Regions from separate parts of the Homo sapiens genome. Here all the other regions are linked to region 1. Evidence: promoter capture Hi-C in human tissues and cell types (Jung and others, 2019). All regions are on one chromosome and are shown on one strand. The core of a region is centred on a gene start or on the middle of the fragment in contact, and the rest is flanking DNA. Distances in the headings are between cores, read along the strand shown. Region 1 holds the start of LDLRAD2 (low density lipoprotein receptor class A domain containing 2). Region 2 overlaps USP48 (ubiquitin specific peptidase 48). Region 3 overlaps USP48 (ubiquitin specific peptidase 48).

The links. Contacts are between HindIII fragments. The study calls those that stand out against the background at their distance.
Region 2: a contact is called between a fragment that was not itself captured here and the fragment with the promoter of LDLRAD2 in region 1, in 2 of the 25 tissues and cell types used here (bladder and pancreas).
Region 3: a contact is called between a fragment that was not itself captured here and the fragment with the promoter of LDLRAD2 in region 1, in 2 of the 25 tissues and cell types used here (H1 embryonic stem cells and aorta).

The regions. Positions count from the first base shown.
Region 1 is chr1:21,809,756-21,814,837 of GRCh38, reverse strand. LDLRAD2 (low density lipoprotein receptor class A domain containing 2) reads right to left here and starts at 2,573. Exons shown (of 5, transcript NM_001013693.3): 1 at 2,302-2,573; 2 at 15-440. The coding sequence starts at 2,386. RefSeq lists silencers at 89-208, 3,937-4,087 and an enhancer at 2,488-2,782. The HindIII fragment of the contact is 35,123 bases long and covers 1-3,932 here.
Region 2 is chr1:21,685,714-21,690,795 of GRCh38, reverse strand. USP48 (ubiquitin specific peptidase 48) reads left to right here. Exons shown (of 27, transcript NM_032236.8): 24 at 697-822; 25 at 3,557-3,605. Among named protein-coding and RNA genes, the nearest start is that of RAP1GAP, 19 kb to the right of the region's middle. The HindIII fragment of the contact is 3,818 bases long and covers 295-4,112 here.
Region 3 is chr1:21,724,570-21,729,651 of GRCh38, reverse strand. USP48 (ubiquitin specific peptidase 48) reads left to right here. Exons shown (of 27, transcript NM_032236.8): 11 at 933-1,082. Among named protein-coding and RNA genes, the nearest start is that of USP48, 56 kb to the left of the region's middle. The HindIII fragment of the contact is 3,775 bases long and covers 943-4,717 here.

The DNA.
Region 1 (5,082 bases), core at 1,324-3,823:
CAGCCCCAGCTCACCCAGACGGAAAGAGGTGACTTCGCCCACGAAGTCCACGCGGGGCTGGCGGCCTCTCGTGACCAGGCGCAGGCCTAGAAAGGGTCCGGAGGATGCCACAGGCACCGGGATGTTCAGGCCGCACAGTGGGGACCCCAGGGGCCGGGGCGCCCCCGGCGGGCCCTCGTAGAACTGCAGGTAGGAGCCGGGGGCGCACGGGTCGGCCGGGGCCGGGGAGGAGGTGTTGAGCGCCGGGGGCGCGGGGGTCAGGCTGTAGACCAGGAAGAAGCGGAACTGGAAGCGGATCCGGTCGCCGGGGGCTGCCGCCTGCACCCAGAGCCCGCAGTCGGTGTCCGGAGCCACGAAGTAGAACCTGCGCGATGCGGCGTGCGAGCGCAGCAGCAGCCCGTCCCCCTGCCACGTCTGCCCGCACAGTTCCGCCAGGTCGGCTGCAGCGGAAGGCACGGAAACTGGAGCCGCGCGGCGCGACCCCGAACTCTACTCTGTCCCCTGCCCGCTGTGTGATCCCAAGCGAGTTACTCGCCCTCTCTGAGCCTCATTTTCCTCATCGGTAAAATGGGGATGATTAATCAATCTCAGAATGATTGTAAGGATTAAATGATTTAATTTAATTTAATTCAAATCTACAATCCCTTATTCGAAACCCTAAGATGCGGGGCCGAGCGCAGTGGCTCACGCCTGTAATCCCAGCACTTTGGAGGCCAAGGCAGGTGGATCACCTGAGGTCAGGAGTTCGAGACCAGCCTGGCCAACATGGTGAAACCCCATCTCTACTAAAATACAAAAAATTAGCCGGGCATGGTGGTGCGCACCTGTAATCCCAACTAATCGAGAGGCTGAGGATGAGAATCGCGTGAACTCTGGAGGCGGAGGTTGCAGTGAGCTGAGATCAAGCCACTGCACTCCAGCCTGGGTAACACAGCGAGACTCCGTCACCAAAAAAAAAAAAGGGGAGGGGGAGAGCTGTGTGATAAGGAGCCCCTTTTCTTCCTGCTTTTGAAAGCTGCTGACTGAGGATGAGGATGGGATGTCCAGAGCTGCAGCAGCCATTTTGCAAAGATGAGGTCAGAGCATTTCAGAGGAACAGTGACATTGTTGAGCCGTTGAGTTAACCATCTCTGGAATCACCTATGACCACTCTTAACTGAAATAGCAAATATCCTACCATTTAAGCCCCATTTAGTTTGTTATCTGTTACTTACAGCCCAAAACATCCTCACTGGTACAGGGTTGTTGTGAGGATTAAATGAGAAGATGTGCAAGTACTCAAAGTAGCCCTGATTTCTGTAAGCACAGAGAGGAAAGAGGAGGTGGGTTTTCTGGTGCAAGATAGGGACCAGTGGGTACTTGAGGACCAGCCAGGATGTGGGTCTTTGAGGAAAAAATCCTTCATCAGAGCTCAGGATGTGGGAGCACTTTCCAATATTTGGTATTTCTCTGCTAAAGCCAGAGCCTACCCTGAAGGTACACAGGGCAGGCATGGAGTTTAGAGAGTAAGGGAATTGGGCACCCTTTTTTTTTTTTATTTCTTTGAGACGGAGTCTCTCTCTGTTGCCAGGCTGGAGTGCAGTGGCGCAATCTCGGCTCACTGCAGCCTCCGACTCCCTGGTTCAAGCGATTCTCCTGCCTCAGCCTCCCAAGTAGCTGGGATTACAGGCACATGCCACCATGCCCAGCTAATTTTTGTATTTTTAGTAGAGATGTGGTTTCACCATGTTGGCCAGGATGGTCTTGATCTCGTGACCTCATGATCCGCCCGCCTCGGCATCACAGAGTGCTGGGATTACAGGCGTGAGCCACTGCGCCCAGCCGGGAATTTGGCACCTTTTATGTGCCAGGTATTATGAAGTGCCTTGCATGACTTATCTCATCTTATATGCCAATAATCATAGTCCCTTAAGGGGCAAGGGCCTATTATTTTCATTTTACTGCCAAAGAAATTCAGAGAGTTGAAACAATGATCTCAAAGGTACAAACATAAGAAGTGGCAGAGTGTGTAAATGCAGCTTCTCTGAATCCGAAGCCTACAGAGTTTTGCAAAGCAGGCCCTGAGGGCTGTCCTGCCCACTCCCAGACTCCTGCTTCTAGGTGACTGGCAGATCCAAGCCTTCCAGAAGGCTTTGGGTTGGATTTGGGGATGCCAAGCAAGACCAGACACAGTTTCCCAGCCTCCCCCAGCTCAAAAGGTCTCAGCCCAGCAGGATGAGTGCTGACTGGGGAAACATAGTCTCTAAGGATGGTGGGGGCCCAAGTCTTCTGGGTGCCCCAACCAAGCCCCCTGATACTTACCTGTCTCCAAAGCAGTTGCAGTCAGGGCGGCTGCCCCCAGCAAGAGCAACCTTTGGGGCAACTGCAGAAGACAACAAGCCTCCATCCAGGCTCTGCTGTGCCCAGCAATGGGGCAGACCCACAGAATCTTCAGCTTGGGGTCTCTGGGGAGACTGGAGTATGGGGCCTGGTCAGGCCAGCAGGGAGGCTGGTGGGACACAAGGAGAAGGGGGAGGCAAGTCTTCACTATGATCTTAGTGCTTTGCCTTCCAGATCCTCTTCATTTGGTTCAGAACTGTGTCCAGGGGTTGCCATGGAGATTTGGAGCAAGGGCTAGAGCCTGGGGAGAGGAGGCAGGGAGGAGATCTGCTCCCCTTCTGCCAGACAGGAACCAGGAAACTCAGATCCGGTTCAGCCATAGGGCTTCTGGGAGGAGGACCCACAGGAAGCCAGATCTGCTACCTTCCTAGATCAGCTGGCCCCTTAGGGACTGAGCTTGAGGGAGGTCCAGGACACCAAAGGAGCCTCTCTGAGGGCCTAGAGAGCAGCAGGCAGAGAAGGAGCACTGGACCAGGAGTCTGCTGTATTACTAACAAGCCATTCCTGCCTCAGGGCCTTTGCACTCATAGATCCCTCTGTCTGGAGTGTTGTCCCCCCATAGCAGTGCACGGCTGACTTCTTCAGGTCATCAGGTTGTGGCTCACATGTTACCTCCACAGACCACACTCTCCTGACCACCTCTCCAACTAAATTAACACTCTCTCTCTTTGTCACTCAATCACATCTCAAATGTATCATCCCAGCACTGTCTGGAATTATTTTGCCTATTCATTTCTTCTTGTATATATTGTCCACTGGCCTCCACTAAAATTATATTCCATGAGTATCTTGTTTACCTCTGAACCCTTATGTCATAGCACAGTCACTGGCACAAGGCAGGCGCCCAGGAAATAATGAAAGAATAAGTGTGTGGCATTGAACAAATGACCCCTTTTTCTGGATTTTACTTTCCCATGTGTAAAATAAATACCCTGGACTAATTCAGACTTTTTCAAAACGTGTTATTAGTAGAACAATTTTTTTTCAAAAGGTATGTTACAAGGAACCTTTATCTATAAAACTGAAGCTTTTCAAGCCCTGGCATCCTTCTCTGGAAAATGGGATAATGATTAATTCCAACCACATAGTTGCATTGTAAGAATTAAGTAACTTGGCCTGGCTTGGTGGCTCATGCCTGTAATCCCAGCACTTTGGGAGGCAGAGGTGGGTGGATCACAAGGTCAGGAGTTCAAGGCCAGCCTGGCCAACATAGTGAAACCCCATCTCTACTAAAAATACAAAAAAAATTAGCCGGGCATGGTGGTGCATTCCTGTAGTCCCAGCTACTCAGGAGGCTGAGGCAGGAGAATCGCTTGAATCCGGGAGGTGGAGGTTGCAGTGAGCTGAGATTGTGCCACTGCACTCCAGCTTGAGCAACAGAGTGAGACTTCATCTCAAAAAAAAAAAAAAAAAAAGAATTAAGTAACTTAATACAAGTGGGGTACTTGGAATAGTGTCTATCATGTAGTAAAGTAACCAATGTATTTCAGCTTGAATGATGATCATTAATGTCATCGTTATTATTTAAGCAGATGTTTCAAGTGTGGGGGAGGGGAGGAGCTAAGCAGCCCAAATTGGCAGTGCCTGAGACACCACCTCAAAATCCCAGGAATCCATGAGAAGGTTAAGACCTCTGGACCTGGCCGGGCACAGTGGCTCACACCTGTAATCCCATCACGTTGGGAGGCCAAGGCAGGCGATCACCTGAGGTTGGGAATTCGAGAGCAGCCTGGCCAGCATGGTGAAACCCCATCTCTACTATAAATACAAATATTAGCCGGGCGTTGTGGCACAGAGGCTGAGGCACAATAATCGCTTGAACCCGGGAGGCGGAGATTGCAGTGAGCCGAGATTGCACCACTGCACTCCAACCTGGGCGATAAAATAAAAAAAAAAAAAAACCCAAAACAAACACCTCTGGACCTATTATTCCCTAACAGCTCTCCCTCCTGGAGCGGTCATTTGATGCAACCTTGATTTCCTACAGTGTATGATGTCCAAATCTGTACCTTGGGGAACTCCAAAAAGACTCAAATCTTCCCTCAGCAAGAATGAATTTATCATGAAGCCCACTGAAGCTTAAACTTCAGAACTCATCACCTGCATGGGATTATATGGTTTTTGTTTTGTTTTGTTTTTGTTTTTGTTTTTGTTTTGAGACTGAGTCTTGCTCTGTCGCCCAGGCTGCAGTGCAGTGGCGCAATCTTGGTTTGTTGCAAGCTCCGCCTCCCGGGTTCACGCCATTCTCCTGCCTCAGCCTCCCAAGTAGCTGGGATTACAGGCACCCGCCATCACGCCCGGCTAATTTTTTGTATTTTTAGTACAGATGGGGTTTCACCGTGTTAGCCAGACTGGTCTTGATCTCCTGACCTTGTGATCCACCCACCTCAGCCTCCCAAAGTGCTAGGATTACAGGCGTGAGCCACCGCGCCCGACCTTTTGTTTGTTTTTTTTTTTTTTTGAGATGGAGTCTCACTCTGTTGCCCAGGCTGGAGTGCAGTGGCATGATCTCAGCTAACTGCAACCTCCCAGGCTGGAGTGCAGTGGCATGATATCAGCTCACTGCAACCTCTGCTTCCCGGGTTCAAGAGATTCTCCTGCCTCAGCTTCCCGAGTAGCTGGAACTACAGGTGTGTGCCACCACACCCAGCTAATTTTTTATTTTTAGTAGAGATGGGGGTTTCACCATGTTGGTCAGGCTGG
Region 2 (5,082 bases), core at 954-3,453, 120 kb after region 1:
GCACTTCGGGAGGCTAAGCTGGGAGGATTGCTTGAGTCTAAGAATTCGAGACCAGCCTGGGCAACATAGCAAGACCTCATGTCTACAAAAATAAAAAATAAAAAATCCGCCAGACATGGTAGCACACATCTGTAGTCTCAGCCACTCAGAAGCCTTAGGTGGGAGGATCCCTTGAGCCTGGGAGTTCAAGGCTGCAATGAGCCATGATCGCGCCACTGCACTCCAGCCTGGGTGACAGAGTGAGACCCTGTCTCAACAACAACAAAAAAAAAAGAAAAAGAAAAAAGAAAGAATTTGGACTTGACTTGTTGATGAAAGGATATGGGGCCTGGGAAAGATGAGGTGACAGTGATGACCTTGCCCAAGCCTCAGAATAGCCATCAGCCCAGCCCCACTTTTTATTCATTTTATTTCCCCACACCTCCATCCTTGGGAAGCTGGTAAGGTAAGGAACAAACGCATCTATATGTGTAATTGTTTCCTAATACTCTACCAGACCTCTTAAGGATGTTCCCGGATATATAGGGACGATAGCCTCAGTAGGAGTATAACAAGTAGGCTGACTGTAAACAATAGTGGTTTTGTACTCTGAAGCCTTTTTTTTTTTTTTAAGAATCCATGCATAATTTATTTAAATAGGGTATAAGTCTTAGTATTTTGCATTATACGGACTTTCTCTCTTTTATATTGGCACAGATCATGCATGCATTTTCAGTTGCTCCTTTTGACCAGAATTTGTCAATTGATGGAAAGATTTTAAGTGATGACTGTGCCACCCTAGGCACCCTTGGCGTCATTCCTGAATCTGTCATTTTATTGAAGGTAAGTAAACAGCTCCTTAGCTGAAGAACTCAAGGTTTTACATGTTACATAACTATGTGTAAACTGTGTGAAATGGTGGTTAAAGGATGCCTTGGGTCTTTAGCAGAGGGTAGTGATAAATGACTGCTGTGGGTTTTTGCAGCTCAGCCCAACTCTGGCTGAGCCCCAGGAGACTTAGAGGAGGTCAGGACATCATCTATCTTGTTCTTGTGTGTTATAGTAGGTGATGTTACGCCACAGCATCAGCAACTGCTGGTACCCTGAGAAGGTGAAAGTGAAGGCTTTCCTTGGCCTTTCCTGGATCACCTAGATCAGTTTCTATGCCTTTGTGGGATCAGGGTACATCATTACTTTCCTGTTCCCTGGTAGGGCAGGGCAGTGGTATAAATCCCACTCACCCAACTGCTAAGCTCCACGCCTGATTTTTCCCATTTGATTTTCTGTCACAAGGGCCCCCATTCTTCTCCAGATACAGATCTAGTTTTCATTCCCCTCAGACTGGGAGGAAGGGAGTGATATTGGGTTGTGGCCCTCTGAGCACTGAGGATTGACTGTCATTCCAAAGGGGCAAGCTGAGTGATCTGGTCTCAGGTCACAAAGTTTCTGTGGTGTCCCCTCCCCAATGCCCTCCAACCCCCCGCCCCCCGCTTTTTTTTTTTTCCTTTTTTTGGACTAGATGGATCTGTTCTTAAAACCACACTAATGATACTGATGTCTGCAACTTAATTTGAAATGCTGCCCCCACAAAAAAAAAAAGCAAAAAATGGGTAGAAGATAGACTTGTGACCAATGCAAATAGTAACTTATTTTATACTTTAAAATCTATCTCTGCTGAGATTTTCATAGTTTTTCTTAGTTAAAAGTAGATTCAGCCTCCTCTGTAACTTTTTCCCTAACTTCCGGTTCAGCAGAATTACTTAACCATACGTCATAGTATTAAAGTATCTCCTCTTTTCCTTTTGGTTCAAAAGGACTAGCCAGCCAAGCTAGGAAACAAGGGTAAAACACAAGGTTCTGTCACAACAGTCAAAATACACGACTTAATGGGATTCTGTCCAAGGCATGGAAATTGGTTTTGGATTTAGTAGATGTAGAAAGTAGGGGCTTCTTCTTTTTTTTTTTTTTTTTTTTGAGATGGAGTCTCGCTGTGTTGCCCAGGCTGGAGTGCAGTGGCACAATCTCGGCTCACTGCAACCTCCACCTCCCAGATTCAAGCAGTTCTCCTGCCGCGGCCTCCCGAGTATCTGGGATTACAGGCGTGTGCCACCACACCCGGCCAATTTTTTGTATTTTTAGTAGAGACAGGGTTTCACCGTGTTGGCCAAGCTGGTCTCAAACTCCTGACCTCAGGTGATCTGCCCGCCTCACCTCCCAAAGTGCTGGGATTACAGGTGTGAGCCACTGCGCCAGGCCTCAGTGACTTTTCTTTGACAGTGTCTTAGAAGCCCCTACTTTCACTGGGCGCAGTGGCTCACCCCTGTAATCCTAACACTTTGGGAGGTTGAGGTGGGTGGATCATGAGGTCAGGAGTTCAAGACCAGCGTGGCCAGCATGGTGAAACCCCATCTCTACTAAATATACAAGAAAATTGGCCAAGCGTGGTGGTGGGCACCTGTGATCCCAGCTACTCGGGAGGCTGAGACAGGAGAATGGCGTGAACTCGGGAGGTGGAAGTTGCAGTGAGCCGAGATTGCGCCACTGCACTCCAGCCTGGGCAACAGAGGGAGACTCCGTCTCAAAAAGAAAGAAAGAAAAGTCATTGAACCAGCCTCATTTGCCCAATTCTACCCTCCCTAAGGGCCTAACTTAGTCGCTTCCCATTGCCTCTTTTGTTTCTTCTTGGCCAAAAGAATCCCTACTGTGCCGAATACCACCACATCATGTGGTAGAATCATTGTTCAGGTTTTTTATTTTGAACTGTGAAATGTATGCTTTTCAAACCTTGGAGCCCCCGTTCTGGTGTGATAAAGTTAGGCCCTGGAATGATGAGGCAGACCCATATCTACCCCATCCATGCACACACACCCCTCATCCCACCACCTAACCCCTCCCTCTGTTTAACATTCTGCATTTCCTGGAAGTATAGGTTCTGTGAAATGGTTTTGAAAACACATTGAGTTGCTAGATCCTAATGATCCTGTCTAAAGTCCTAAAACAGCCTGTATTGTTGAACGGTTTGTACTTCACATGGGCAGCTAGAGTCTGTACTGGTCATTGGCTTCATTATCCTTGCAGCTAACCTTATCATAAGCTCAGACATCATAAGCTTCCTCCTAAAAAGGAAATGGGTATCTTGTTCTTGCTGGTGAAGTGGGACAAAAGTATAATTTTAACCTAATTGGTATTCTGAGAGGACCAGTATAACTTTTTATTTGTACCCCTCACTGCCACTACGAGTATCTTAGCTCACATTGGTTTAATCAGTCTTTAGTAACCCCAGGGTGTCTAAACATTTCCATGTCTAAAGGTGTCTTTAAGAATGGGAAAATAGTCCCCCCTGCCTTTCCTCTTCACACACACAGTATACCACTTCTGCAGTGTTGACTCTAGACCCATAGCCAGCAGGGCATCTGCTGTTAAACCTGGACGCTGCTGGCTGTGGCTGAAACTGAGTTATCTACTGGACAGTGTGTTTGTGTCTTATAGCAATATCAGTAGTTGAATCATGGGCCATACTTCAAATTTCAGACTCCCTCTCCCTTGTGGTTTTGAATTGTCTTCATTTGTTTTCTAGGCTGATGAACCAATTGCAGATTATGCTGCAATGGATGATGTCATGCAAGGTAAAGATGAATTTGTTTTAGGAATCTGCTGATTAGGTTTTAGACGGAGGTGGGATTTTAGATATTGAAGCTTTAGTGTACAGTGCTTTTACTTTGAACCTTGAAAAAAGCTTCCACATATTGTTACAGTAGAATACATTATCTTAAAAGATCATAGAAAGGAGGGAAAGATATCTACAAAAACTTGGAAAGCTAACCTGAGGAAACTGAAATAAATGTGAGCTCTGCCTGTGGAGGAGGTCAACAAGAAGCAAAACTAAGTCAGATTGCAGTGCCCCAGACAGGCACACACAAATTAGAGGCCTAGGTACCTCTGAAGGTGGGAATGAATTGTGAGCCTAAAAAGAAGATAACATGATACTTGTTTGGAAAACTGTATAAGAAGCAGTTAGACAACTCTCTACCTTTCACATCCTTGTCACTTCCCCATCTCCACCTGGACCTCAGATGGGCACCCAGAATTATGTGTTTCCACACTTGGAAAAATTAAACTAGAAAGGTGGGAACGAAGCCTATACCAAATAGGAGACCATCTCTTAGCCCTTTGCTCAAATTCGGGCAGCCCATTACTTACCCTCCCCCAGGTGGGAAGGGATTTCTCTCCAGGGAAACTAGTCAAGAAAATAACCAGTGGATGTAAAAAGTCTGGTTCTGTATGATCAAGTGAGATTTCTCCCAGGGATGCAAGGATGTTCAACATATGCAAACCAATACATCACATCAGCAGAATGAAGGACAAAAATCATATGATCATCTTAATAGACAAAGAAAAAGCATTTGATAAAATTCAACATCCCTTCGTGGTAAAAACTCTCAAAAAACCAAGTACAGAAGGAACATACCTCAATATAATAAAGGCCATATGTGAGACCCACAGCTGACATCATACCTAATGGCGAAAAGCTTAAAGCCTTTCCTCTAAGAACTGGAATAGACAAGGACGGCCATTTTCACCACTCTTATTCAACATAGTATTGGAAGTCCTAGCAAGAGCAATTAGGCAAGATAAATAAGTAAAAAGCATGCAAAATTGGAAAAGAGGAAGTCAAATGGTCCCTCTTTGCAGATGACATGCTTTTTTTTTAGAGTCTTTGTTGCCCAGACTGGAGTGCAGTGGCACCATCTCAGCTCACTGCAGCCACCACTCCTGGGTTCAAGCAATTCTTGTGCCTCAGACTCCTGAGTAGCTGGGACTACAGGCATGTGCCATGACACCCAGCTAATTTTTGTATTTTTACTAGAGATGAGGATTTCCCATATTGGCCAGGCTGGTCCCGAACTCCTGGCCCCCTGTGATCTGGCCACCTGGGCCTCCCAAAATGCTAGAATTACAGGCATGAGCCACCATGCCAGGCTGACATGATCTTATATATGTAGAAAAACCTAAAGACGCCACCAAAACACTCTTAAACAACTGATGAACATTCAGTAAAATTGCAGGATACAAAAATCAGTGTACAAAGTGAGTTTCTGTAGT
Region 3 (5,082 bases), core at 1,581-4,080, 85 kb after region 1:
CAAAGATTAATGATAAGTAATGGATTGCTTTTAGTTACTATGATAAATTGATTCCATAAGGTGAATGTTGGTGAAAGTAAATATTAATTGCAAATTTACTTTTAAGAAAGGAGCTTCTGAAATAAAGCAATGCAATTATTAAAAAATCAGAAAGTAATCAAAACATGTATTTAAAGTATAATTTGGTTTTATTTTGTTCGGTTTATAGAGTATTTGTGAATTTTATTTAATTATCTATAGATATTCTAGACTTCATAATATAAAAGGTAGAGTTGTTGCTGCCCTGAAGACAGTCTGAGTCTGAATCATTTTACTCAGCACTTTTCTAAGCTTGGTGGCATCATCTATTCTTTCTTTTTTTTTTTTTTTTGAGGCGGAGTCTCATTCTTTCGCCCAGGCTGGAGTGCAGTGGTGCAGTCTCAGCTCACTGCAACCTCTGCCTCCTGGGTTTAAGCAGTTCTGTGCCTCAGCCTCCCGAGTAGCTGGGATTACAGGTGCGTGCCACCACGCCCAGCTAATTTTTGTATTTTTAGTAGAGATGGGGTTTCACCATCTTGGCCAGGCTGGTCTTGAATTCTTGACCTCACGATCCACCCGCCTCAGCCTTCCAAAGTGCTGGGATTACAGGTATGAGCCACTGCGCCCGCCTGGCGTCATCTATTCTAAAGTGGTGATTTTGAGCCATTCGATTGTTCTGGGAGGCTGATGATGTCATGGAGAGCTAGGTGGGGGGAATCAATTTAGGATTATTCCAGTGGCTGTCTTCACTTTTACTTCTGCCTTCAGTTTGGAGGTTTCTAGCAGACAGGGAGACCATAGTTGGAATTTCTGCCAATGTTTTAATCAGTATTTGATATGATTTAGAGATTAGCATGGTTCACTATATGTGAAAACAAGAATAAAGTTGTTTTTTGTCTTTCTGTTTTGAATAGCCTTTCTTCAAGAGCTGGTAGATCGGGATAATTCCAAATTTGAGGAGTGGTGTATTGAAATGGCTGAGATGCGTAAGCAAAGTGTGGATAAAGGAAAAGCAAAACACGAAGAGGTTAAGGAGCTGTACCAAAGGTTACCTGCTGGAGCTGGTCTGTAAGATATTCTGGGACAGCACTGTTGCCATTAAGTGCCTTGTTTTTTTATGTTCACAAATGTATATGAAGAAACTTTCTCAAACTTACTCTTTCTAATAACCCACTAAAGCCAGCTTAAACACTCTAAAAGTACTTTGTAAACCAACAATAACTTGATGTGTAGCATTCCATATTATTTCATTACGTTGTACTCCTAAAAATGGGAAGCTGTTAATAAATTATAACATTTAGGTCAGCACTCTGCATCCATGAGTATTGTAGATATTTATATTTTGTGAGATATTAACTTGTTTAAGAAAAATCCGATTGGATTACTATGGAAAAAGCAACTTGCCTGTTCTGTTTCTTTGCATACTTTGTGACCTAACAGTTTTAACAGACATTCTATTATATGAATACAGTTTTTTTGATACTATTAGATTAACTTGAAGTTTAATACCAAATATTATGCTAAGAGTAGAAAAGCTTTCTGCTGACCCCTGATTTCTTAGAAATATCCCACATAATCCAGCTTATCCCTTTTCTGTATATGTTTATTCAGGTTTACCTGATGTCTCAAAATGAAACCAAATTAAGCCTTTTTAAAGGCTGATGTGCCATTTGTATTAAGTTATCTTTGTCATTTTAAAGACATGAATTCCCCAAGCCTAATTCCTACTTAAGGAAGAGAGACAATTTAGTCCTTACTTTAGAAAATAAATACTTAAGCATAATTGTACTTGTGGTTTGTCTTTTTAATATCTTAATTTTCCATTACTAGTATAACTTTAAGCAAAATGTAAACAAAAATTGCCAAGTCTATAAGAATATATTTTAACTAAATTTTAATTCAATTCTGACCCTTCTTTGTAATCTGTTACTTTAACTCTGTCCAAGGGTTGGGATTACCCTAAATAATTAAACTGACCTTAATGTAACTGGAAATGATTTGGAAATGAACCCATGATTCAGATCTCTAAATTTATAGGTCTTTGTTCAAAGGTGTTGGGACCTAGAAATCTATTTTCCAAACTTTATTCACGGTTTCCTGTGTCCACTGGGCAAGAGAAAGGGACTTAACTGGGTCTAAAGTGAAATACTCATTTGAACCACTCTTTAGAACTATAGAGTTCAAAGATGTTATGTGTCAAGTTAGCACTGTGCTTCCTTTGGCTGTTTTCATTCAGCATATAGGAACCTTATGTTCTTAGAATATGCTTATGTTCTTAGAGTATTTCTCTGTGTTATTTATACTTTTACCAATTATGAGCTATATAATTCTTTTCCATTTGCAGTAAACTTATATTGTAGACAGTCCACGCTGTAAAATTATGTAGAATCTCAAAGTTAATGAGCATGGTTTTGTGCTGGCAAGAGAAGTCTTTTGTTATGCATTTTCTAAATCTTATTTTTGTGTGTGAACATATTTAAAAAAACAAAGATCACTTACCCTAAAATCTAAGCCTCAGTAGGAACGTGCTTTTGGCCCTTTTTATTTCCATTGAAATATACTTAAATTATCTCTAGGTAAAGTGTTTCAGATGTTTTTGATGCTGTGATTGTTCTAGACTTTATAACTTTCCAAAGAAAATGTGTCATGTTCAAAATCCAGGTTTTTTTTTTTCTTTTTAAAGAACTTTGAACCAAAATGTATATTTCCCTGTGGTAAATATTTTAATATTTTGCTTTCCTCATCAAATGCTGAGGTTTCATATAGTCCGGTATCTCCAGCTTGATAATAGGAGAGTTCTCCCTCATTTGGAGTTGATTATGTCCATGGCCTTTGGAAAGCAATGCTTGTAGTTTACTGAATCACAAATACTAGGGAATATATTTGAGGGGCCTACTTAGAGTCTTTTTCTAGTGCAGAAACATCTGTAGTGTAAAAACTTTGCCACAAACAGAATCTGCCTTAACTATGAGACTTGTGCTCCACTTGTATTCTCAGGCAAGCTCTTGGCAGAGTCAGTGCAACTCTTTATGATGATAGAGACTGAAAATGGAAAGAAAGACAGACTTCTGTGACCATAGTCACTCTTCCTTCATGGAGCCCACAGCGCACTAAAGTGAAATCTGGAGAACTTGCTGTTAGTAGTAAGCATGGTATTAGATTAGAATTATAGGCCTGTTCTCTGCTTTCTGTCTTCCTCCTCTTACTATAAAACCGTACATAGTTTTTCTAATCATTGTATCTTACATTAAATTTATATTGAACAATTCAAAAACCAAAACAACAAGCTTTCCTTGGAAGTTTTCTGTGAGATTGGAAAATGTTGTCTTGCCTTTGAGCCACATTGTTGCTGGACAGTCAGGGCCACAGTCACCCTAGGCTTTGAATTCCTGCAGACATCCCCTGGCAAGGAGGGCTTTGTGCATTTTGAGCTTTCCTAGATTCCTTTCATTGTGAGGGCCAGGATTCTTAGGGTGTTTTCTTTCAGTTAGCAATAACAGATACTGCTGTCTGTCCACTCCTCCCCAGCTGCTGGGGAAACTAGGATGCCTAGTGACTTATTCTTGAATGTTGCTCTTTATCACAATCCTGTTTTTTCTCCTTTGATAGCCTTCATATTGCTTACCATTTTAATCTAATTGACTGTCCTTGGGAAAAGATGAGAGTATGCTAAGACTTTGATCTTGCTTTCAGAAAGGGATCATTTATCTTTGCATTCCCCAGATACCCAGTGTACTCTATCCCTGGCAGATTAAGCTTGATAAATGGCAAATAAAGTCGGGAGGCATTTTGAATGTAATTAGCCATACCATGATATACTGTAAAGTGCTGCAGCTGTGTTACATATACTGCATCTTAAAGTCTCCTCTTTTTTTTTTTTGAGATGGAATTTCACTCTTGTTGCCCAGGCTAGAGCGCACTGGTGCAATGTCAGCTCACCACAACCTCCGCGTCCCGGGTTCAAGTGATTCTCCTGCCTCAGCCTCCCGAATAGCTGGTATTACAGTCGTGTGCCGCCATGCCCAGCTAATTTTTTGTATTTTTAGTACAGACGGGGTTTCTCCCTGTTGGTCAGGCTGGTCTCAAACTCTGGACCTCAGGTGATCTGCCCGCCTCGGCCTCCCAAAGTGCTAGGATTACAGGCGTGAGCCACCATGCCCAGCCAAGGTCTCCTCTTTTATATATTAAGTTTACGTAAATGTATAATTAACTTTTCCATATCTCTTTTCTTCCAAAAAGCTCAAAATGCTTCACATAGCTTATCTTTTATACTCAACAACATTCCCATGAGGTAGGTAGAAGGCAGGTATTATTACCTTCATTTTACAAATAAAAGACTGGAAACATAGAAAGTTTAAGTGACTTGTTCAGGTTCATTTTCTTGGTAGCAGAACTTGGATTAGACCGTGACCTCGACTCACAGTCCTGTGCTCTTCCTCTGGAGCCACATTCGACTTGACCAGTTAGAAGGCTCTTAGTTGATGATGTACAGTGCCAAATTTTGTTTTCATAAAAATTGAGATGGTTTACTGTAAAATTAAAATGGGAGTTAGTTTTCTAGACATGTAACTCTCTGGGGAGTATAAAACTGGTCACAATGGGCTTTGCGTTGAAGTATCTGTCCCTCAGATCTCATCAGAAGGAGTATATAATACAAAAATATAAATTCAACCTCTGTATGTTTTCTTCTATGTTTTATGCTGGGACTCACTGGAGATCTTTGTAAGTAATCAAAGCTGGCCCTTTATCTTTGATTTTGGCTTTTAGGGAATTCTAGGGACTTCCTTTCCCCAAATTAAAACTCATTTTGAGGTGTTTGGTTTTGTCTTTTAATTTTTGCAACTTCAAAATTGATGACTCAGTTCTAGTGTACTTTATCCTCGAACTTGTTTAAAATAGGTTACTTTCTTGAAATAAATAATAATATAATGAAGAGATCATGACTTGGATTTGGGTGGGGGAATTAAATACCTTTTCAAAATTGCCATCAGTATCATCTTGGATGAAGAAAGTTCAGTGGTTAAAAGCGTCTTCTGAAGTGTGGTCATAGTCGGTGAGGTTTAT